Regions from separate parts of the Homo sapiens genome. Here region 2 is linked to region 1. Evidence: promoter capture Hi-C in human tissues and cell types (Jung and others, 2019). All regions are on one chromosome and are shown on one strand. Each heading gives the region's core, a stretch centred on a gene start or on the middle of the fragment in contact. The rest is flanking DNA. Distances are from core to core; before and after follow the strand shown. Region 1 holds the start of DNASE2B (deoxyribonuclease 2 beta). Region 2 has its middle 13 kb from the start of DDAH1.

What was found. The method cuts DNA at HindIII sites, captures the fragments that hold promoters and counts their contacts. A contact is called where the count stands out against the background at its distance.
Region 2: a fragment that was not itself captured here is called in contact with the fragment with the promoter of DNASE2B in region 1 in 1 of the 25 tissues and cell types used here (pancreas).

The regions. Positions count from the first base shown.
Region 1 is chr1:84,396,695-84,403,562 of GRCh38, forward strand. DNASE2B (deoxyribonuclease 2 beta) reads left to right here and starts at 1,790. Exons shown (of 6, transcript NM_021233.3): 1 at 1,790-1,995; 2 at 5,207-5,384. The coding sequence starts at 1,871. The HindIII fragment of the contact is 7,255 bases long and covers 1-4,509 here.
Region 2 is chr1:85,475,015-85,481,926 of GRCh38, forward strand. It overlaps a transcript of DDAH1 not described here. Among named protein-coding and RNA genes, the nearest start is that of DDAH1, 13 kb to the left of the region's middle. The HindIII fragment of the contact is 4,355 bases long and covers 337-4,691 here.

The DNA.
Region 1 (6,868 bases), core at 540-3,039:
TTGAGACAATCTCACTCTGTCACCCAGGCAAAAGTGCAGTGGTACCATCATGGCTCACTGCAGCCTCCACTTCCTGGGCTCAAGCAATCCTCCCACCTCAGCCTCCTGAACAGCTGGGACTACAGGCATGTGCCACTATGCCCGACTAATTTTTTTTTTATTGTTTGTAGAGATACATTCTTGCTATGTTGCCCCGGCTGGTCTTGAACTCCCAGGCTCAAGCAATCCTCCTGCCTTAGCCTCCCAAAGTTTTGGGATTACAGGCATAAGCCACTGCGTCCAGCTGATAATTTTTAAAAAAACTTTTAAAAATTGACAAAAAGGTTGGGGTTGTTGAAATCCTTTTTTCTGAACACAGGAAGAAAATATATAAAACAAAATGAGAACAGGCACAGTGGTTCATGCCTGTAATCCCAGCACTTTGGGAGGCCGAGGTGGATGGATTCCCAGGCCGAGGTGGGTACACTCCAGCCTGGGCAACAAGAGCAAAACTTCATCTCAAAATAATAATAATAATAATACCAATGGAGGAATGGGTAAGAAAAATATTTCTTCATTTAACCTGCAGAAAGCTGTGAATCTACCAAATACAGCATAGTCTTGGCCTCAGGGCAGTGAGTTTCAAACTTTAGGGTACACCAGCATCACCAATAAGCTTATTAAAAATATAGATTCTTGAGCCCAACTGGAAGAATTCTGATGTAGCAGGTTTGGAATAAGTCCTAGAATTCTGCCTTTTTTGCAGGCACCACAGGTAATTGGGCAGGTGGTACAGAGTCCTCCTCCCAAAACTCTGTCTTAGGATAGAGACACAAGCCTTCCCCTTTTCTATGAATCCTGAGAATTGTGAACAGTTCTAGTGCAACCACAGAGGTAATCTGATTTACAAGGGTTCAGTTTGGTCTGGATCCTCTGATCTGGAACTATTATAGTTATCATTGTGATTATCAGAGAGACAGATTAGGGGCAGCATTATTTCCAGGCATGATGTAAACTGCTATTTATTATGATGGCAGCTTTAATAATTGATGCAAAAGTATGCATTAAAGAAATTATTTTCATATGTCTATCTACTCCTTCCCTGATTCACAAAGAAATTGGTCTCACCTTTTTATAGTTGTTATGGTAGTGGGCCATTTTATTTTGGTTTTCTACTTCAGATTCAGCTTCGAGAATGAGAAAGCATAGTTTGGGCAAAATAGATGTTTGTAACATTTTTTATTAACCTGAAGAGTGGGTGATCAATATGTTTACCTATTGCATAGCAGCCTGAAGCACCACATTGAGTGGCTAAAACCAGGAAGATGGAGAGAATATGTAAACATCTTTGGTAAAATACAGTTAAATTTACTGTTACTTTGAAGCAACCCTTTGAAGTATCCCTTAGCAACTGGTTCCTTAAGACAGAGATTATTAAGTGACAGATCCTAATTATTACTAAGACATAAGGTTTTATCATTTCTGTTTAATGTACGAACCACCTGCATTTGCTCTCATTCATTGAGTCAAACAGGAGAAGACATGAAATATATTTAACATCTACTTATTAAAATGAAGTCCCCCTGCCCAATGAATTTCATACAACAATGTTCACTCCAAAGAGTGAACTATCTTTCCCTATTTTTCTGCAGAACTTTTTGATGACTTTGCAAACCAGTCAACAATTCAGCACAAAGGCATCCAGAGTCACGCTGGCATGTTGTGACAGAATCGCACAATTACATGGGATCCATCCCACTCTGAAAATGCCCCGAACAGCGAACAGCACAGGTAAATCAAATCAAACGTCAGAGCCAGCACAGCCTGAGAGCGCCTTGAAACTCAGACTCCACAATCTATGGGGAAAGTGTCCTGCTGTGGCATGAAATAAATGAAACAGAAAATGATGGCAAGACTGCTAAGAACATCCTTTGCTTTGCTCTTCCTTGGCCTCTTTGGGGTGCTGGGGGCAGCAACAATTTCATGCAGAAATGAAGAAGGGAAAGCTGTGGACTGGTAGGTAAATGAAATGGAAGGACTGCTGCATGCAAACAGCCTCGGTACAGAGTTGGCCTGGCTCACTGCGAAGTTCCTAAGGGGAATGTCCATTCTCTTTCCTCCCTTTACAAATAAAGGAAGTTAAAGTGTGCAAATCGGCCAAACTCCCAGGCAGGGGTAGGCTTCTGAGTGACGGAGTTTCCCCCTGAAAAAGAGCTGAGCAGCCCCTCTTGGGCCTGATTCACTGTTCTCAGCGGGGCAAGGCTGGTAGCCACAGAAGTGGGATTGAGCTGACAGCTTCTGTGAGCTGGCAATTTCTTTTAATTACATCATGGCTTTTCCTAACAGAACACTTCCAACATCCTTTGAAAGACTGACAGAGTAAAGAAGGCAGATTATTTTTTTCTGAAAATGGAGCATGTGCTGCTCCTTATGAGAAAGAGAAGGGGGACCTGGTCACACACAGCACTGTTTGCCTAACATCGGTTTGTTTGGAAGCAGAGGCAGCTGTTGCCATGATTGGTACGTAGGCCACTGGCCTGTTGTACAGTGTCAAAGACATTAAATGCTGTGTTGCATTATAGTCATGGGTTCTCCTAAAGCTTTAACTACTTTTTCACCCTTTAATTGGGATATTTAGGTTTGCCATAATGGTTGGTGTCAAGCTTTTTGTGTAAACTTCAGGCTACAGAACACAGATATACTCAAGGCAGTAGTCAGTCTTTCCTCAGTTACTGAGCTCAACAGAGGTCTGTGTGGAGTTTTGAAAATATAAATATGAACGAAACATGGTTCCTACCCTCAAGGACCTCACAGTTATGTGGTAAGGGCATAGGTGGAACACTGGGGAACAGAGAGCCCAGAAAACTTCTCTAAGGATGTAATTTTTGAGCTAAGTTTTAAGAACAATTAAGAAGTAGCTGGAAAAAGAAGGGATGTGCAAGAGCATCTCAGGCCAATGAAGGAGCAATGAGGAGGTAGAGAGGCAAGAAGCAACATGGAAATTTGGGAGTTGCAAAGTAGTTTGGTATTGCTGGAACTTCAGGAGAATACAGGAAGATGACCGGAGGTGAGGTTAGAGAGGTGGGGACAGCCAAGGGGTCTGTGTGCTGAGCTACAAGGTTTGAACTTGACATTGAAAGGGAGCTATTGGAGGACTTCACGCAGGGGTGTGAATGGTCAGATTTGCACTTTAGGAAACCCATTGGCAGTACTATGAGGGCTGGATGGATGGGGAGCAGCCTAGAATCACTGAGACCAGGAGCACTTTTGCAGCATTACAGGTGAGAAGAGGTGTAGACCTGAGTTAAAGAAGCGGTCATGGAAATAGAAAGAAGGACATGCTGAGAAGACTTGGTGATGGATGGGCTGCAGCCAGTAGGAGAAAGGGAGATGTTAAGAAATAATTTTAGGTTGGCCAGGCGTGGTGGCTCACGCCTGTAAGCCCAGCACTTTAGGAGGCCTAGGCAGACAGATCACCTGAGGTCAGGAGTTCAAGACCAGCCTGACCAACATGGAGAAACCCCATCTTTACTAAAAATACAAAATTAGCCAGGCATGGTGACGCATGCCTGTAATCCCAGCTACATGGGAGGCTGAGGCAGGAGAATTGCTTGAACCCAGGAGGCGGAGGTTGTGGTGAACCAAGATCGTGCCATTGCACTCCAGCCTGAATAACAAGAATGAGACTCCGTCTCAAAAAAAAACAAAAAACAAAACAAGAAAGAAAAAGAAAGAAATAATTTTAGGCTTCTGCTTCTGAGACTGCATGAATATGTTCCCTAATAGTGTGGGATGAGCAGATTTGGAGCAAAATATTATAAATTTGGTTTCAAAAATACGGAGTTGGGGGTTAATGGGACATCTTTGAGTTTAGGTTTCTCTGGACCTCAGCAGAAAGGTCTGGGCTAGAAACAGACTGAGGACTCTTGAGTACATAATTAGAGACAGTCACCCAGGAAAAATGTTTAAAAGTACTAGCTCTCAACTGGTGTGCCACGGCACACTGATAGTTCACAAACCCTTCACTGGTGGGCCACCAAATTGTGATTGATATGGAAAATCATTTTTGCCACAAGTGAATGGACATATTACTTAGCAATGTCTGTTAGAGAGAATATAAGCAACTTGTTGCCAAGCTGCTAACATTTATTGAGAAAGGTAAGGAAAGAGACCATCAAGTCAGCACCAAAGAATAATTTCATGTTTCCTGCCACATGTGAGGACCTGACCCTGTAAGAAAGCATAAGCAGGGCAGGAAAGAGTTCACTTAAATTAAGTATAAGACCGAAGGGGACCAAGTGAAGAGTGTGCAGCTTTTACGGGTTTGTGACACTGTTGTATGGTAATAGTGTATATATTATAATGTTTGGTGCACTGTGAGTGTTTAGGGGTTAATGGTGGGGTTCATGCTATTAGAAAGTATTTGGCTAGATCAGTGGTTCTCAACCGAGGGTAATTTTGCCCTCAGAGGATTTTTGATAATGTCTGGAGATAATTTTGATTGTCACAACTTGGCAGTGCTACTGGCATCTAATAGGTAGAGGGCAGGGATCTTACAATGCACAGGACAGCTCCCACAACAAAGAATGATCGGCTGAAAATGTGAATAGAGCACACTGAGAAACGCTGAGCTAGGTAATCCAATAATGCCTTAATGCTGTCTTGGCTGAGCTACCTCTCCTCCCTGTGAGATATCCAAGGGAGATATACAAATGGAAAACAACAGTAAAGGAAGGAAAGGGCCTACTTAATTACTTGGTTTTAGCCCTGAATCTTCAAGGCAGAGTATTCGGATAAACTGAGCTGAGGAATGCAGCTTATGACAGGGGCTCAAAGTACCTTCCACCTCTCCTGAAGCCCAAACCCAAATCTCATATCCAGTCAGCCAACTGCATGGTCTGGGCCTTGGCCTTCTCTCCACTGTAGCCACATGGATCATGGAAGCAACAGAAAGAGCCACTCTCAATGTATATGGACTTCCACTTCAGGGACTCCACCCACCAGTATAACCAAGGTCTTAGAACATATCCAATCAGATTTTTATTTTCTTCTCTGGGGAGGAGCAAAGATAAGAGTGAAGAAAGAGGCAAAGAGCTTGAGCAAATCCCTTTCCTTAGAGGCCTTCCATGAAACAGAAATGAGAGATATATTAAAGTGTGTAATACAGTTACTGCCACAGGAAAACAGTCAATAAATGTTAGTAATTCATAATCATTTTGTCTGTTAGGTTTACTTTTTATAAGTTACCTAAAAGACAAAACAAGGAAAGTGGAGAGACTGGGTTAGAGTACCTGTACCTAGACTCTACAACTAGAAGCTGGAGGAAGAGTGAGCAACTAATGAATGACACCAAGAGTGTTTTGGGAAGGACATTACAACAGCTATATGAAGCATATGCCTCTAAGGTATGTTATATAGTTAATTGTTCACTTGAATAATATAAAATGCATAAAACTGAATCCAAAGCCTTCACCAGAGTTTTCTGTTCACCCACCCAACCCCCAATCCTAGCACCTTGAAGTGAGCTAGCTCAGGACCAGCTCAAGACAACTATCTGAGTCAATCTGACTAAGACCTGAGGAAACATGTCATCATACTCTACAGCAATGCCAAATTTACTTGGCACCATGTCCAGTGGTGTCACTAGGCAAGGTGTGAATTAATTGTATATTGAAGTCTTCTGGCTGCCAAAATGTCTGTCAGTTTGCTTATTCATCTAATAGAAATAGGGAGAGGAGCCTCTGCTGTTACAGGGCAATACAGAACTGTGATTAACATGCTATGAGTTATGGATTGTTTATATCATGGTGTTGATCAGTGGTGGTGAGCTCAGTAAAGGGTTCTACTTGATCTTCCTTTTCATTAATTGTTTTCAAAATGATATGTTGAAAACTAGGACTCTAGTTCAAGGCCCTAGAACTAACTTGTCTGGATGGAGATTATCCCTGCTATATCTGGACTTTATCAGGCAATGAGCTAATCAGCCAAAGAGACACAGGTAAGTAGGCCTGCTGGCTTATTATGGGCATGCTCCCAATATTCTAGGCATCATCTGTTGCTTAGTTTCAAGATACTGCTTTCCAACCAGGAGTGGCAAGTAAAATCAAGCCATGATTAACATCCAATTATACTCATGTATGCATTTCCTAACAATAACTTATAGACAAGTAAATATATAACATGACTCTGCTCCTATAATATGCTGGACTGTATGCTGGGCCTTTACATATGTCAAGTAATTTAATGCCCACAACAATCCTGTTTTAGCCTCTGGCACTGCACATGTGTATCTGAGTATTTACTCAAAATACACACGGAACTGTCATGGTGTGTGGTAATATTCATGTTATTTACCTGCCATTAAGACTAGCCTTCAGAGCCAAGCTACAAAGTTAAAGCTTATCTGTAGGCTATTTGAGAACATGTGATGTGCCAAGCACTTTTCTAGATGCTTTTCAAAATTATTTGTCTCAACAAACCTGCTTTGAATAAACAGACGACAGCTGACCCTTGAACCATGCTGGGGTAGGGGTGCCGGCCCTCATGCCGTCAAAAATTTATGTACAACTTTTGACTTCCTAAAAATTTATCTACTAACAGCCTATTGGATGCCTTACTGATAACATCAGTTTGACTGGATGCCTTACTGATAACATCAATAGTCGAATAACATGTAATTTTTATGTTATATATCTTATATACTATATTCTTACAATAAAGTAAGCTAGAGAAAGGAAAATGTTATTAAGAGAATCATTAAGGAAGAGAGAATATATTCACTCTTCATTAAGTGGAAATGGATCATCATAAGTGTCTTCATCCTTGTCATCTTCCTGTTGAGTCAGCTGAGCAGAAGGAAGAAGGGGAAGGGCTGGTCTTGCTATCTCGG
Region 2 (6,912 bases), core at 1,264-3,763, 1.1 Mb after region 1:
GTTATTATGAGGACTAAATTAAATTAACTTAGACAACATATGAAATATGTTCTTCGTCTCCCTTCTGCTGAGGGAGCCCTTTGTTCAAAGGAGCCCTTTGCTCAAATGCTGGCTCCACTACTTACTATCTGTACAATCCTGGTCAATTAACTTCACATACAGAGCTTCAGTATTTTTCCATTTGTAAAACAAAGATTACACATATATTATGACGTAATGAAGATTAATGAGATGATCCATGTAAAGCTTTGCAGCATGTAGATATAGCAAGTGCTCAACAAACGTTAGCCACTTCCATGATGATGGAGGAGGAGAAGGGGGAGGAGGAGGGAAAAAGAAGAAGATATGCAAAGCATAGCAATAGTTGACTTTCAACAAAGGTTACTCCCTTTCCTCTTTCCTATTCCATTATTGGTTGGGGGAAAGCTTCATTTACCCATTCTAGGGTCAAACCCCATTACAATAAAATTATTGCCCAACTTCCCCTGCTGAATGGGAACCTTCTTATATTAAATTTTGGTAAGAATTACCTACATTTTAAATAATTCAGGTTACTTAATTCAATATGTTTGACAATGTATAGGCATAACTCTTAGAAAAATAGATCATGTAAACACTGTCAGATTATTTCCCCACACTTTCTTTTTCTTGCCAGCACCATTATAAAATTATAGAGGGCTTCCATATATCGGGACCTGCATCATGCAAAAATGGTTGGGGTGGAGTGGGAGTAGAGGTTCCAAACTTCTAGTGGCTTTATGGAGAAAGCCTCACTGTCCCTATTACCTGAACTCTTACCTCTGAGGTGGTTGGGTTTTGTTTGTTTGTTCGTTTGTTTTTGGTTTTGGTTTTTTCGAGACATGGTCTCACTCTGTAACCCAGGCTGGAGTGCAATGGCACAATCTCGGCTCACTGCAACCTCTACCTCCCAGGTTCAAGTGATTCTCCCACCTTAGTCTCCTGAGTAGCTGGGACTAGAGGTGCACGCCACCACACCCGGGTAATTTTTGGTTTTGTTTTTGTGTTTTTATACAGACAGGTTTCGCCATATTGCCCAGGCTGGTCTCAAACTCGTGAACTCAAGTGATCTGTCTGCCTCAACCTCCCAAAGTGCTGGGATTACAGGCGTGAGCCACCATGTCCAGCCTCAAGATAGTTGTTACACGCTTCTTTATTTTGCCCTTCACCTACTTTCTCCTCTGAATTATCTTTCCTCAGCTCCTTCTTCTCATGCATTTACTTTTCTTACTCTTTGTTTCAGTTATTGTTGATGCACAAAAAACTACTCTGAAACCTAGTGGCTTTATAAAACAGTCATTTTGTTTGGACCATGATTTGTGGATTAGGAATTGGGGAAAAGCTTGTGTCTCTGATCCACATGGAGTCCACTGGGGCAGCTGAAGCTGGGAACCACTTTCCAGCTGACTTTCTCACGCACATCTCTAGTGCCTCAGTGTTGTTCAGCCTGACCCCCAGCTCACCCCCTCCACACAGGTCCCTTCTTCCAGAGCTTCTTCATGTGGCTCAGGATTCTCACAGAATAGTGGTCCCAGAATAGTCTCATTTCTTGGTGGTTGGCTTCCTACAGGTGAGAAGTGGAAGCTGCCGTGCTCTTTAGGGGCTATGCACATAGCTAGCATGGCATGATTTCTGCTATCCTGTACTGGTCAAAGCAGTCACAGGCCTGCCCATCAAAGGGAGGGGAACAGACACTTTCTCTTGATGGAAGCAGTGTGTATCATTAACCAGTCACACTCTTAGTATCAAGTTCTGTTATTCTTCCAAGATAGTATTTCAATAATATTTTCAGAAAAATTTCTTTCATTTTCTGAAGTTTTGCTAACTTTTTTCTGAATTAAAAACAGGGTCCATAATACACAACTAGCACTAGTCACTGACTAGTAGTAGGTGCTAATACTGTCTAGCAGAGAGACAGCTATGAATCAAACCATCACTAAATACTCACAAACTAAGTGCTGTAAAGGAAAAGGACTGGGTACCATGAGCATGTATAATAACGTAAATCCCATATGTCTGGGGGAATAAAGGAAGACTTCCCTGGAGAGGTGACTTCTGAGCTGAGAATTGAAAGATGAGTAGGTATTAATCAGGAGTGGAGAGAAATTACCAAACTGAGCCGAGCATATGAGCAAAGACACAAGGTGGGAGGGAATTTAGCATGTTGGAGGAAGGAAGAGAAAAATCTATGTGCTACAGCTGGAATGTCAGTGATATTGTTAACCTTGTTTTAAAGCTGAGGGTCAGCTCCTGGCTGAGAGCCCTGACACAGGTAAGGGCTCCATAAATACGTGCCTCCCCAATGACAGGGGGCCTGTCAATAATATGCATCCGCCCTCAGGCCTTTTCTACAGCCTTTACAACTAGAAGAGTGTCCCCTACAACCTCATGACATCTTACGTGAGAACCATGCAGATTCAGAGAAGTCACCATTGAAAACCACCCGAAGAAAACATTATCTACCGAAAATATAACACATCCTGGTGGTTATTATAGAGTGGAGTTAAAATGTAAATCAAGATTAACTCACACCAAGATTATCCTGCTCTTTAGAGATGATATATGACTCACACTACTGTCTCTGCTATACTATATATAGCAGAGATAGTATATGTATATGCATATACTATCTCTACTATATATAGAAATATATATAGTATATTATGATGTGAAATTTTGATGTGAAAGCTAGAAGAAAATGGTAATTTGTGTTCATACAGGTCACATATGTAGCTACGTACTAAATTTTTCAGGGAATTTATTTAAACATCTCAACCATCAAATTAGCATATGCATCAATAAAAAAATGCTGTACAAATTGTCTATAATTTATTGTACAGGAAATTTTATGCTTTTATTCCCTAGTATATGGGCTTCTATTCTCTATTCAGTTTTTGTTATTTTAATATATTAAACATAATTGCAAAAAATTAATGATCTATGCCATCTGCCAACTCAAAATCTCCTAATCTCAGTTTCTCCAACTTTCCTTCTAAAAAAAATTAGAAAAGCCTTTAAAGAAAGTATTTTTCAAAAATATAGGGAAAAAAGGGAAAGGAAATTGCCTTGGAAAGCAAATTTTTCTTCTGTGAGAATGCTGACAGATAAATCATTTTGGAGAGAAATGGGCAAGAATATTATATAGAAAAATCAGTTTCATTTTTATAGAAAACATGGGTTTCCACTAAAGACCATATCATAGGATACATCTTTAAAAAGAAAAGAGAAGTTTCCACTCTAACTTGCTTTTTGCCAAGAATGCTTTCTGACATCTTAATTAATTTTAGGAATTATCTGTATTAGTCTGCTCTCACGTTGCTAATGAAGATATACCTAAGACAGGGTAGTTTATACAGGAAAGAAGTTTAATAGACTCACAGTTCCACATGGCTGAGGAGGCCTCACAATCATGGCAGAAGGTGAAGGAGGAGCAAAGTTATATCTTACATGATGGCAGGCAAGAGAGCTTGTGCAGGGGAACTCCCATTTATGAAACCACCAGATCTCATGAGACTTATTCACTAACAGAATAGGAAAACCCACCCCCATGATTCAATAACTTCCCATTGGGTTCTTCTCACAACATGTGGGGATTATGGGAACTAAAATTCAAGATGATATTCGGGTGGGGACACAACCAAACCATATCATTATCCTTTCAGTTGTATCCTTCCTATTGTGACTTAATGTTTCTTGAATTTTATAATATTGTCTGCCTTATTGCAATAGTGTTCAGATCCTCATCAGAAGTGGTCATTGACGGGTAAGTTGGAGATCAGGGAATAGGTTTGGCATTGTCAGACAAGACTAATGAATATCAATTGATAAAGAATGGGTTGTTAATATTATGGGGGATAGTCTAAAGCATATTACATTACTGTATAATGCTGTATTCTATATAATTGTATATTACTTTACAATATTCTAGAAATATGGTGAAACTAATACATGCTTTAAAAGAAATTATATTTTTATTGCCTTTTGAAAGTTTACATTTAATTTTTATTTTACTTTATTTTGCGTTTTGCTTTTAAAAGATTATTGATTTGCTATAGCCCAAGAGGTAGTAGGTGAAAAGCTTAAAGTAGTTAATAATCTGAGATTATTTTTCCTCCCTTCTGTTTTTCTTTTTTTTTTTTTTTTTTTTTTTTTGAGACGGAGTCTTGCTCTGTCGCCCAGGCCGGACTGCGGACTGCAGTGGCGCGATCTCGGCTCACTGCAAGCTCCGCTTCCCGGGTTCACGCCATTCTCCTGCCTCAGCCTCCCGAGTAGCTGGGACTACAGGCGCCCGCCACCGCGCCCGGCTAATTTTTTGTATTTTTAGTAGAGACGGGGTTTCACCGTGTTAGCCAGGATGGTCTCGATCTCCTGACCTCATGATCCACCCGCCTCGGCCTCCCAAAGTGCTGGGATTACAGGCGTGAGCCACCGCGCCTGGCCCTGTTTTTCTTTTATAAAGACACCAGAAGGAAATTAAATGCTTAATTAAATTAAACAAATCAGGCACTAATATTACCACAATCGGGGTTTTCACCACTAATTGCTTATTGAGTATTACAACAGTGTTCACACAATCTGAAAGTAGAGTGGTTTTGGCCACATATCAAAATAGGCAGTGTTATAACAGTTCCAGATGTTATGGTAACAGGCACTCTGGAGGTGGGGTCAATGTGAGCATCATCAGAACACCAGACAATTAGATATTGCTAGTTCAGTTTGCTGGGCCTTGTCTTGATCCCTTTAGGGTGAAAATGGTGCTTCCAGCTTCCATCTGTTTGGCCCTGCTTGGGAAAGAGTCATGCTGGGCCAGGCTAATCACATGTTCTAGAAGAGGTCACAAAATTCTGATTTGGGAATTTTTGTAAACGACTATACCCATCTTACACATACTGAAATCTAAGAAGATAATATTTCCTTGTCACGTTTTTCTGAAGCAGACGTTCAATTAAATTCAAAGAGCACATGTCTGCTCTCATAGGAACAACTATGAGCAATTAAAAGAGAAACAGAACAAGTGACAAAACAGCTCCTTCTTCAGAAGAGTGGGAGAAGTAACCCACTGTGGATGGTTCAACACTTCTGTCAGTAGGTAAAACTGTGACAGAGTCAACATTCACCTTAGAAATTCTTCTATGTGCCCCTGCTCCACCCCACACACTGTTAGCAGTTCCCCATCCCTGGGTTGCCTCTCTGAGCACAGGCTTAAACTGCTCCCTTCCACACCAAAATATATGTGCTCTGGAGTTCATTTTGTCAGATTCCTCTTAAGCTTCTAATAAAACCTAATAAACCTATTCAGGATAGGATCTCAGATGAAAATAACTTTTCAATTCAATACTTTTATATTAAGTGACTAAGTGTGCTAGATACTGTGGCTAACGATCTGATTAAGAAATGGTTTCTCCATTCATCATTTTAAAAATCAGGAACAGGCAGGTGCGGTGGCTCACATCTATAATCCCAGCACTTTGGGAGGCTGAAGCTGGCGGATCACCTGAGGACAGGAGTTTGAGATCAGCCTGACCAACATGGTGAAACCCCATCTCTACTAAAAATACAAAAAGTAGCTGGGTGTGGTGGCAGGCACTTGTAATCCCAGCTACTCAGGGGACTAAGGGATGAGAATCACTTGAATTGGGGAGATGGAAGTTGAACGACCCAAGACTGTGCCACAGCACTCCAACCTGGGCGATAGAGCAAGACTCTGTCTCAAAAATAAATAAATAAATTAATTAATTAATAATTAAATTAAAATTTAAAATCAGAAACAATTGGAAAGCCCTATAATAAAAGAGTAGTTAAATAAATCAAGGTATATCCATACCTGTGGGATATGCTGTAGTCATTAAAAATAATGCTTTTGAAAATAATGTTTTAGTATGATCACAGTTTAATGACATATATAGGAGAAAATGCTTAATAAAATGTAACAGTAACTTTTGCTATCTTTAAGAAGTGGGATTATAGGTGATTTTTATTTTCTTTAAAATTTTATGTGTTTTCCAATTTTTCTTTAAGAAGCATATACTTCATAAAATAATAAAAATCATTTCTTTGGGTTTTTTGTTTTTTTTTTTTTTTTTGAGATGGAGTCTTGCTTTGTCGCCCAAGCTGGTGTGTAGTGGTGCAATCTCAGCTCACTGCAGCCTCTGCCTCCCAGGTTGAAGTGATTCTCCTGCCCCAGCCTCCCAAGTAGCTGAGATGACAGGTGTGTGCCACCACACCCAGCTACTTTTTGTATTTTTAGTACAGACAGGGTTTCACCATGTTGACCAGGCTGGTCTCGAACTCCTGGCCTCAGGTGATCCGCCTGCCTCAGCCTCCCACAGTGTTGGGACTACAGATGTGAGTCACCTACCCAGCCTAAAGACAATTTCTCTCTGTAAGAGTTATGTCTAGTCCAAATTAAAAGATTGAAAACAAATTATTAATACATTATAAGTGTTATAGTTACATACAAGATGTTATGAGAATAACTACCCATGTGAATGATATCACTTAATATTATACCACCACCAATGATTTCTCAAAAATCTTTTTTACACATTATAAACCAGCTAGTTTATTATTTTGTAGTAAGATATAGATCTTTTACCATGCAGACTGAAATACCTATGTCTTCATGAACAGTACTTTTCTTCCTAGAGGCAGTTACATGGAAAACCAGGTTATTATCAGGTTATTTAATGAGTGTGAAATCCCAACAAGAGGAGACTAACTTTAAGACCTATAACTCATCCATGAAGGCTGGGGGCACAGTTTCCCACCACGGGAACACCTTAGCCTCCAGAAAGCTTATTGACTCTTCTCTCCTCATCTTGGTCTGGCTGAGCACTGTCACTGGTCAGTCACTTCCTGCAGCCATACAGTCTGGCCAGCTTGGCCTAAGAGCTG